Linked DNA regions of Homo sapiens: region 2 is linked to region 1. The links are contacts of gene promoters, found by promoter capture Hi-C in human tissues and cell types (Jung and others, 2019). All regions are on one chromosome and are shown on one strand. Each heading gives the region's core, a stretch centred on a gene start or on the middle of the fragment in contact. The rest is flanking DNA. Distances are from core to core; before and after follow the strand shown. Region 1 holds the start of NOLC1 (nucleolar and coiled-body phosphoprotein 1). Region 2 overlaps GBF1 (golgi brefeldin A resistant guanine nucleotide exchange factor 1).

The links. Contacts are between HindIII fragments. The study calls those that stand out against the background at their distance.
Region 2: a fragment that was not itself captured here is called in contact with the fragment with the promoter of NOLC1 in region 1 in 4 of the 25 tissues and cell types used here (H1 embryonic stem cells, dorsolateral prefrontal cortex, liver and 1 more).

What each region holds. Positions count from the first base shown.
Region 1 is chr10:102,150,114-102,154,545 of GRCh38, reverse strand. It overlaps NOLC1 (nucleolar and coiled-body phosphoprotein 1), which reads right to left and starts at 2,157. Exons shown (of 13, transcript NM_004741.5): 1 at 2,016-2,157. The coding sequence starts at 2,135. PPRC1 (PPARG related coactivator 1) reads right to left here. Exons shown (of 14, transcript NM_015062.5): 14 at 4,213-4,432. RefSeq lists enhancers at 2,047-2,096, 2,267-2,566, 1,472-2,671. The HindIII fragment of the contact is 9,767 bases long and covers 1-4,432 here.
Region 2 is chr10:102,263,613-102,268,044 of GRCh38, reverse strand. All of the region lies in intron 3 of GBF1 (golgi brefeldin A resistant guanine nucleotide exchange factor 1), which reads right to left. Among named protein-coding and RNA genes, the nearest start is that of GBF1, 20 kb to the right of the region's middle. The HindIII fragment of the contact is 6,652 bases long and covers 1-4,432 here.

The DNA of each region.
Region 1 (4,432 bases), core at 908-3,407:
ACTCTGTGGTCCAAAAAAGAGTAAATGATCAGAGTCAGTACAGATGGGAACTCACCTTTGGACAAATTACCTTATCTCCCTGAGATTATTTTCTTTTCTATAAAATGGAGATAATACTACACATCTCATTAAGTTATTGAGAGGATAAGACATAATGCATGTTGGCCGGGTGCGGTGGCTCACACCTGTAATCCCAGCACTTTGGGAAGCCGAGGCAGTAGATTCTTGAGGTCAGGAGTTCAAGAGCAGCCTGGCCAACATGGTGAAACCCCGTCTCTACTAAAAATACAAAAAAAAAAAAAAAAAATTAGCCAGGCATGGTGGGGCACACCTGTAGTCCCAGCTACTTGGGAAGCTGAGGCAGGAGAATCACTTTAGCCTGAGAGGCAGAGGTTGCAGTGAGCTGAGATCGTGCCACTGCACTCCAGCCTGGGCGACAGAGCCAGACTCCGCCTCAAAAAAAAAAAAAAAAAAAATTAAATGCATGTGAAGGGCGTAGCATCTGACCCTTAGTTAGCTCTTCACAAAGATTAGCTTTTCTCACATAAAACCATTTCAGAATCCTAATCCTGAGGCCGGGCACGGTGGCTCGCGCCTGTAATCCCAGCACTTTGAGAGGCTGAGGCAAGTGGATTTCTTGAGGTCAGGAGTTCAAGACCAGCCTGGCCAACATGGTGAAACCTCATCTCTACTAAAAATACAAAAATTAGCCGGGCGTGGTGGTACGCGCCTGTAATCCCAGCTACTGGGGAGGCTGAGGCAGGATAATCACTTGAACTTGGGAGGCGGAGGTTACAATGAGCCGAGATCGCACCATTGCACTCCAGCCTGGGCAACAGAGACTCCGTCTCAAAAAAAAAAAAAAAAAAAAAAGAATCCTAATTCTGAAATGTCCAATTCCATCCAGTCCACTGTGAAAGCACTCTCCGCAGTCTCCTTAACAGTCAACTCTAAACAGTTTCATTAAGAAAGCAGTTAGATCACATGGCAGCCTGTCCCAGCTTAAGGAAGTTTTGAGGCTGATCTGATTCTTTGCTTTCGCAGCCTGATTCTGCTAAAAGTGCAAGCCATCCTTCCTAGTCATGCTATCATCCCTGCTGAAGACCCCCCCTCTCTCCTCTCTCAAAGTGTCTTCCCATGCAGGAATGTCCGTTGATGTAGATTACAAACCTTTCACATTCCTGGTTCTCTTACTCTTACATGTGTTTGGAGCATCCTAAATTGCCATAACTATGGTACAGCTTTCACTTTTACAAGATTCCTCTGTACCAGCACTGAGATTGCTACTCTTACACATCATCTTACTGAAACTCACAAAAATCCTATAAAGTGGATGATGACATCCCTGTAGAAAGACTCAGAAAGGTTAAATAAACTGCCCGGGTCACGTATCTAAAAAGTGGCAGAGCCTGGTCCCAAACCTAGGTTTGTTTGATTCAATTAGCCAAAGCTCCAAGCCCACTACTATGCCTACTTGGTAGGGCTGTTGATGACTCTCAATTCTCAGTGTAACTCAAAACAAAACTCTGCTTCTACTTTCATTCATTTTCTTCTTTACAAACGAAAATCCCAGACTTCATTCTAAAGAAATTTCACTTGCTTTTGAATCCCAGTAAATGTGACTGAGGCTAAGGTCAAATCACGGTTTGCCTCACCCAACGAAAAGCCCCCCAGAAGATGCCGAAGAACCAACGTCCTCAGTGGAACAAGACTCTACCTCCCCGCTGCACTCTGCCAGCCATGTGGCTTGGGGCCACGAGGCTCCCACGCTGCCGCCGCTGCACAGGTCACAAGAAAAAAGCAACAAGACTCAGCGATATCTACTCAGACATGGAGGAAGGTAAGCGACCGAGGCCGCAGGCTTTCTCTGGTCACTGCCGAGGGGTCGGCGTAAAGGCCTTGCAGACACTGGACTGGCGGACCCCCAGACTTCCCCACCTGGAAACCTAAGCACGTCAGGGCCTGAAGCCTTGTGGTCATCTCAGCCCGGTCCCCGCCCCAAGCCCGGAACTCACAGCTCCTGTCGCTTTGGCGAACTTATTGGCCACCTCTGAGAGTTGGTTATCGCGCAGGAAGCCGAGCACGAGGGGATACAGGTCGCTGGGAACCACGCGGCGAATGCCGGCGTCCGCCATCCTCCAGGCAATACGCGTCACTACCGTTGTCGACGCAGCACGACTCAGGAACCCAACAGGGGCAGTGGGCGGGCCTGTGTTACGTCATTGCGCCGCGCGGGCGCATAACGGAAAGGGTGGGCTCCACAGGGCAGTCCCACCTTCACCTCAGAGGTAGGGTAGACGGGAAATCTATAAACTCTTTCCGGTCCCACGCGTATCGCCATCTTGGTTAAGGGCGGAGCCCACCGGCCGCCAGCTTGTGGAGGCGGAGCTCTGACGTCAGGGATCACGCCCTCGGCGTGGCGGGAAAACTCGGGACTTCCCGCGCAGTCTTTCTGGGGGAGGTACCTTTTCTCAGAGCAGCGGTTTCCCGCGCCCCTGCTGGGACTCGGATTCCAGAGTAATGAGTGGACAAGCGGGCTCGAACAGTTGTTCTACAAGATCTCCCAACCGCCCCCATGGCGTACTGGCACGGCCAATGGATTCTCGCCCTTCATCTTCACTGCCTCCAATACCCAGGGAGGCCCTTTCTGATACCATCCCAGCCTCCAGACTCCTGCCTCTGCTGCAGAAGATCCTTCGGGTTATCCGTCGTGAGGGTGGGAGGTGTTGATTTCCCAAGCTGCCCCTCCCATCTCCCTTATATTCCGCCTTAGGTCAGCTCCATGAAGAGGAAAGGTGTCATGCACCAAACCTGAATCACACACAGCAACAATCTATTCAAGCTGAAGAGATTGTTGAAAATAACCCTTCTTCCTCCGGGATCAGAGTTCACACTCTGCCTTTGTCATGAGTAACTCCAGTATCAATGCCTTTGTCATGAGTAACTCCAGTATCAATGCTCAGACCTACCAAGTTAATTCCAAGTTCTGCCACATTCCAGATATTAGCAGTTAGCAATCCCTTCAATCCTACCCACTACCCCTTGGCTACCTCCCACTAATGCCGCTCAGGAAAGATAAGGATCCTCATGGGAACACACCCCCCTCTCCTATATAAAATTGGCCAGGCATAGTGGCTCACAACTGTTATCTCAACACTTTGGAAGGCCTAGGTGGGAGGATCCCTTGAGCCCAGGAGTTAAGAGGCCAGCCTGGACAACACAGTGAAACCCCCCTATCTCTACAAAAAATTTTTAAAATTAGCCAGGTGTAGTGGCATGCACCTGTGGTCCCAGCTACTTGGGAGGCTGGGGCAGGAGGATCAACTGAGCCAGGGAGGTCAAAGCTGCAATGAGCTATGATCCTGCCACTGCAATCCAGCCTGGGCCACAGAGTGAGATCCTATCTCAAAAATCAAAAACAAAGCTGGGCACGGTGGTTCATGCCTGTAATCTCAGCACTTTGGGAGGCTAAGGTGGGTGGATCACCTGAGGTCAGGAGTTCAAGAACAGCCCTGGCCAACATGGTGAAACCCTGTCTCTACTAAAAATACAAAAAAAATTAGCCAGGCATGGTGGCGGGTGCCTGTAATCCCAGCTACTCAGGAAGCTGAGGCAGGAGAATCACTTGAACCCGGGAGGCAGAGGTTGCAGTAAGCCAAAATCGTGCCACTGCACTCCAGCCTGGGAGACAGAACAAGACTCCATCTCCAAAACAAAACAAAAAAATTCAAAAACAGAAACAAAAAACTCCACAGTTCCCTCTTCCCCACGCTTCCTGTTCTACCCACATGCATGCATTATTTAAAACATTTGAGCACCTGCTGTGCCATGCAGTGTGCTCAAGCTATTATAAAATGATGAACATAACTGACATGATGAATGTATACACCTGTCGCAGTTTAGAAAACCTTTCTTTGGAACAAGTGTGAGCTTCTCTAGGTCCTTGTTATCAAAATCCCTTCCTGGACCAGTATCATCATCCCATTGTCAGAATCTACATTCTAAAAAGATCGCTAGATGATTCAAATTCCCTTTAAAGTTGAGAAGCACTGTCCTAAATGACTCATTTTAGACAATACATCTGAGGAACCAAGGTTCAAATCCAGTGGGATTTTTGCACCTGACCAGGGAGAGGCATGTCCCTGGACCATGTTCAGATAGGAAAAGTGAATACATTTGGCATTAGCACCATATAAAGACGCACAACAGCAGTTGGGAGTTCTCTCTAGTTGATGTTTATTAGTCTGCATAGTGACTTATGTTCCAAACACTGGGGATCCCCTCAGCCCCTCCTATCTTACATAGGAATGCAAGTTAACTTGTTTCAATACCTGTTATAAAAAAACAAATACCCCTTTTAAAAAATCTGATTCAACATATTTTTTATTTCACTTTTTTCCATTTCTTTATAAAACAGTCATCTCACTAGCAG
Region 2 (4,432 bases), core at 821-3,320, 110 kb before region 1:
TGGAGCTACCCTTTTAATATGAATAGTCCCTGGGGAAAAAAAGAATCACAGTACCTTTATTCACTCTAACTGTGCTGAAATGTCTACAAGTCTGTGGCCACTCAAGTTACAGAGATTCTAAGGTGCCAAAGTCAGTCTGACTCAAATTCAAGTCACATTCTAATGTATTACTCAACTATAGTTTTATATTATAAACCAAGAAAGTAAAACAGGGCACAGGAAATGGATACTTTTAAGTGTGCCCATTGCCTTTCCTAACACTCAGCCCTTCACAAAATTTGTCTGCCAAATTTTATCACATTTGGTTCTTTTAGTTCCTACTTAGGCCTTGAACAATTCACAAGCTCAATTCCAAGTGGAACAAAAGCTGATGACCCATTCAACCTTCTTCTCATGCTGATTAATAATGATATATTACTTTACTCCCTAAACTATAGACCCCTGTAGGAAAAAATAAAAGTAGGCACTTAATCAATAGGACTCCAGCAAATTTTTTTCATATAACATACTCGCTTTTGTTGTTGTTGTTGTTGTTGTTGTTGAGATGGAGTCTTGATCTGCCACCCAGGCTGGAGTGCAGTGGCACGATCTCAGCTCACTGCAATCTCACCTCCTGGGTTCAAGCAATTCACCTGCTTCAGCCTCCTGAGTAGCTGGGACTACAGGCATGCGCCACCGCACCTGGCTAATTTTTGTATTTTTAGTAGAGACAGGGTTTCACCATGTTGGCCAGGCTGGTCTCGAACTGCTGACCTCAAGTCATCCACCCGCCTTAGCCTCCCAAAGTGCTGGGATTACAGGTGTGAGCCACCATGCCTGGCACATATAATATACTCTTATTCAATCTTTTTCCTGACAATGACTACTAAAATCTCTTTTCTCTACACCTCCCCATTTTCCAAATGAAACAGATTAAACTTGAGGTATCAGGCATTCTCAAACAGTTTCTTTTCTACCTAAGCGGCTACTGCTAAGAGGCCCAGGCCAGACAGGTGTTAAGTCATAGTTCCTCCCAAGTTGGCTTCCAGACTCTGTTTAAATGTTCTCTGCAAACCTCTGGAGGTTAGATGGACTCAAACCTCCTAGCTCAGACTCTGAATTCACAAAGCTTGAGACAGACAGTACCCTACAGGTGTGTTTGTCCAGGATAAACTATACTTAAATAAACTCCTGACACATCCACTTTCTCCTGGCACGTGCTTCTCCCTCTTAAACTCAAGCACGCCATAACCTGCTGTCCCAGTAAGCTCTGTAAAGAAATATCCTATCCCCCAGAATTACGCTATGCAACCCACCAATGTCTTTGGGAATAGCTAAACTCTGGCCATAACAGCTTTACATGTGAAAGCCAAATAAGCAAATATGAGCTATTGTTTTTACTTATTTCTTTGGCTTGTTCCTTAAGGAAAGAGCAGGAATAAGAAAAGCTGGCAGCAGATTGCTCTCACTCATGGTCATCCATTCCATGCCTGATAGGGACCATATAGCATAAAGTAGAGGCTACAAAATGTTAGCTTTGGAATGATCAGCTAGAGTCATTAGTCCTGTCAAACCAGTGGCTATGAGGGCAGGAAGTCTGACTGATTGTTTACCATTACAGACCCACTTCCTAAGTACCTAAGAAAAATGCCTGGCACATACCAGATAGTCAATAAATATCAGTTAGAAGCAACTCAATAAGCTAGGCCCTGAAGGAATCCAAATCTTGGAGAATCCCCAAAAGAAAAGGTCTAAGAAGCTAGAACAATGTTATAGTTAATATGGGTACCTATACTGGGCCTCAAGACCACCTTAGTTTTTTTTTTTGAGACAGAGTATCGCTCTGTCACCCAGGCTGGAGTGCAGTGGCACGATCTCGGCTCACTGCAAGCTGCGCCTCCCAGGTTCAGGCCATTCTCCTGCCTCAGCCTCCCGAGTAGCTGGGACTACAGGCGCCTGCCACCATGCCCGACTAATTTTTTGTATTTTTTTAGTAGAGACGGGGTTTCACCGTGTTCGCCAGGATGGTCTCAATCTCCTGACCTCGTGATCTGCCCGCCTCGGCCTCCCAAAGTGCTGGGATTACAGGCGTGAGCCACCGCACCCGGCCCTCCACCTTAGTCTTACACTGAGAACCCCAGTCCTGATAACCAAAACTGGACATTAGGTCCTCAGAGCTAAAAAGACCTGGGACTAAATCTCCAAAGGCAAACTCCTCACCACCACACCCTCACACGCACATAGACACACGCACACCCTAAGAAGTCTTCCTCAAGCCCTGGCCCTGAAGGCTTTAAAGTAAGTCATTAAAAGATGATCCCATAAGAGAAGATTTTGGTTGTGATACTTTCTTTCATTCATTCATTCATTCATTCATTCATTGAAAGGGTCTCACTCTTGTCACTCAGGCTAGAGTACAGTGGCGCAATCATGGGTCACTGTAACCTCGAACTCCTGGGCTCAAGTGATCCTCTCGCCTCAGCCTAAGTAGCTGGAACTACAGTTGTACGCCACCATACCCAACTAATTTTTTTTATTTTTATTTTTGTAGAGATGGGGGGAATCTTGGTATGTTGCCCATGCTGGTCTCGAACTCCCAGCCTCAAGTAATCCTGCTGTCTTGGCCACCCAAAGTGCTAGATTACAGATGTGGGTCACTGCACCTAGCCTGGTTGTGATACTTTTAGACTGTTCCTCTCCTGTTTTAAACCAAAAATTTTCTGGAAAAGAATCTCTTTGTAATGATCTAAGTTTAAAGACCAAGGACAAAGACAGACTATATCTGGAGGCAAATGACTACAACCAAACACCACAACTCACAACTGACTATAGCCCTTTCCATAAAGCTATACTGGATGAAGGGAACTAAGGCTTGCAAGAATTTATCTAGTCTGGGAACAAAGAGATCAAAGACCACAGACCATATTGGCTAGAAGCATTCCCATAAACTGTCTACTCTTGTCAGATCTAAAACCAAGAGCAATATCAAGTATCCTGATATTTCACTTTCCCTTCCATGCCCCATCCCATGCCACAGATCCTACCACAAGGTCTAGCTGCGAGACTGAAGATAACTCCCATATGCAAGAGCCCCAAAAGATTCTTAGAAGAATAAAAGGAAATGTGTCTTTGGAATCTAAACCCATGGCAGGGCTTGGGCAGATGTAAGAGAGAGGCAGTGGCCCTTCTGCCCCTAAGGCCAGGACACCCCAGCCCTGCAGGCAGCACAGAGTTAACTACCCACCCGCTCTGAGAAGCACAAAGGTACATCACTGCAACATGCCTAACATTTACATTGCCTCTCTCTGCTCATTAAACAGGTTTTGGTTAAATAATGAACAAACTGTATTACAGACTCCAATGAGAATTCCAAAATTATAAATCAACTGGGAAAGCCCAAAGGGGCAGACAGACAGGGAGGGGGGAGAAGGATAATATTGACTAATATAAAGGGCGCAGCTTGACAGTGGATATTCCTGCCACACCTGATCAAACACACTCCGTGGGGGGAGGGGAAAGAGAGCAAGAGAGGGAAGATGGGACAAGACAGCCTGAAATTTGCATCCGGAAAAGATTAAAACGGATTCTTTGGGGATAGAGAAAATACATAATATATATTACTATAAATGCAAAACTGTACTAAAAGCTAACTCAAATGTCAAAGATTACAGTTTGAATAAATTTAAATATAAAAGCCATGTGCTTCCTTGAGTTAATGAGAGAGACATAAAAGGACAAACTGGGCCAGAAGCTGAACAGAGCCTTATGCTGCCTTTGCTGGGTAATGGGTCCAAAGCACAGCAGTGACTACAGAGACTTCCCTCCACAGTTCTGAGACCTGAGAAAAAACTGGCAAATCCATCACTTCTGCAGCCTACATTTGCCTCCTTTATAAACTGAGATATGATTCACATACTATAAAATTATCCTTTTCAAGTATACAATTCAGTGGTTTCTTGTATACTCACAAAGTTGTGCAACCATCGCTACTATCTAATTCTAGAACATTTTCATTACCCCAAAAAGGAACCCTGTAGCCATTAGCAGTCACTCTCCATACCCCCTCCCAGCCCCTGGTAACCACACATCTGTTTTAACTCCTTCAGAATAATCTAAAAGGAGTCCTGAGAGGACTTCAAGACCAAATGAGGGACAGCAGTCAAGTCTCTCTCACTGGTGGTAAGCTAAAGCTTTATCCAAAGTAACAGTATGCAAACTTTGCTCTTGGACACCCTTTTTCTTCCAAGAGCAACCCTCTTTTCAAATTTGGTATTATTAGAATATCTTATTACTCTAAATGCTATAGACCTTGTAGTCATCATACAGTTTAGGCAAATACTGACTGTAAATGTGGTCCAATGACATACATCTGTGAGAAAAACTAGTATGGACTTAGCCAACCTTACTGGAGAAAAGGACTTATTTCCTTCACAATAATGAGATAATATTCCTG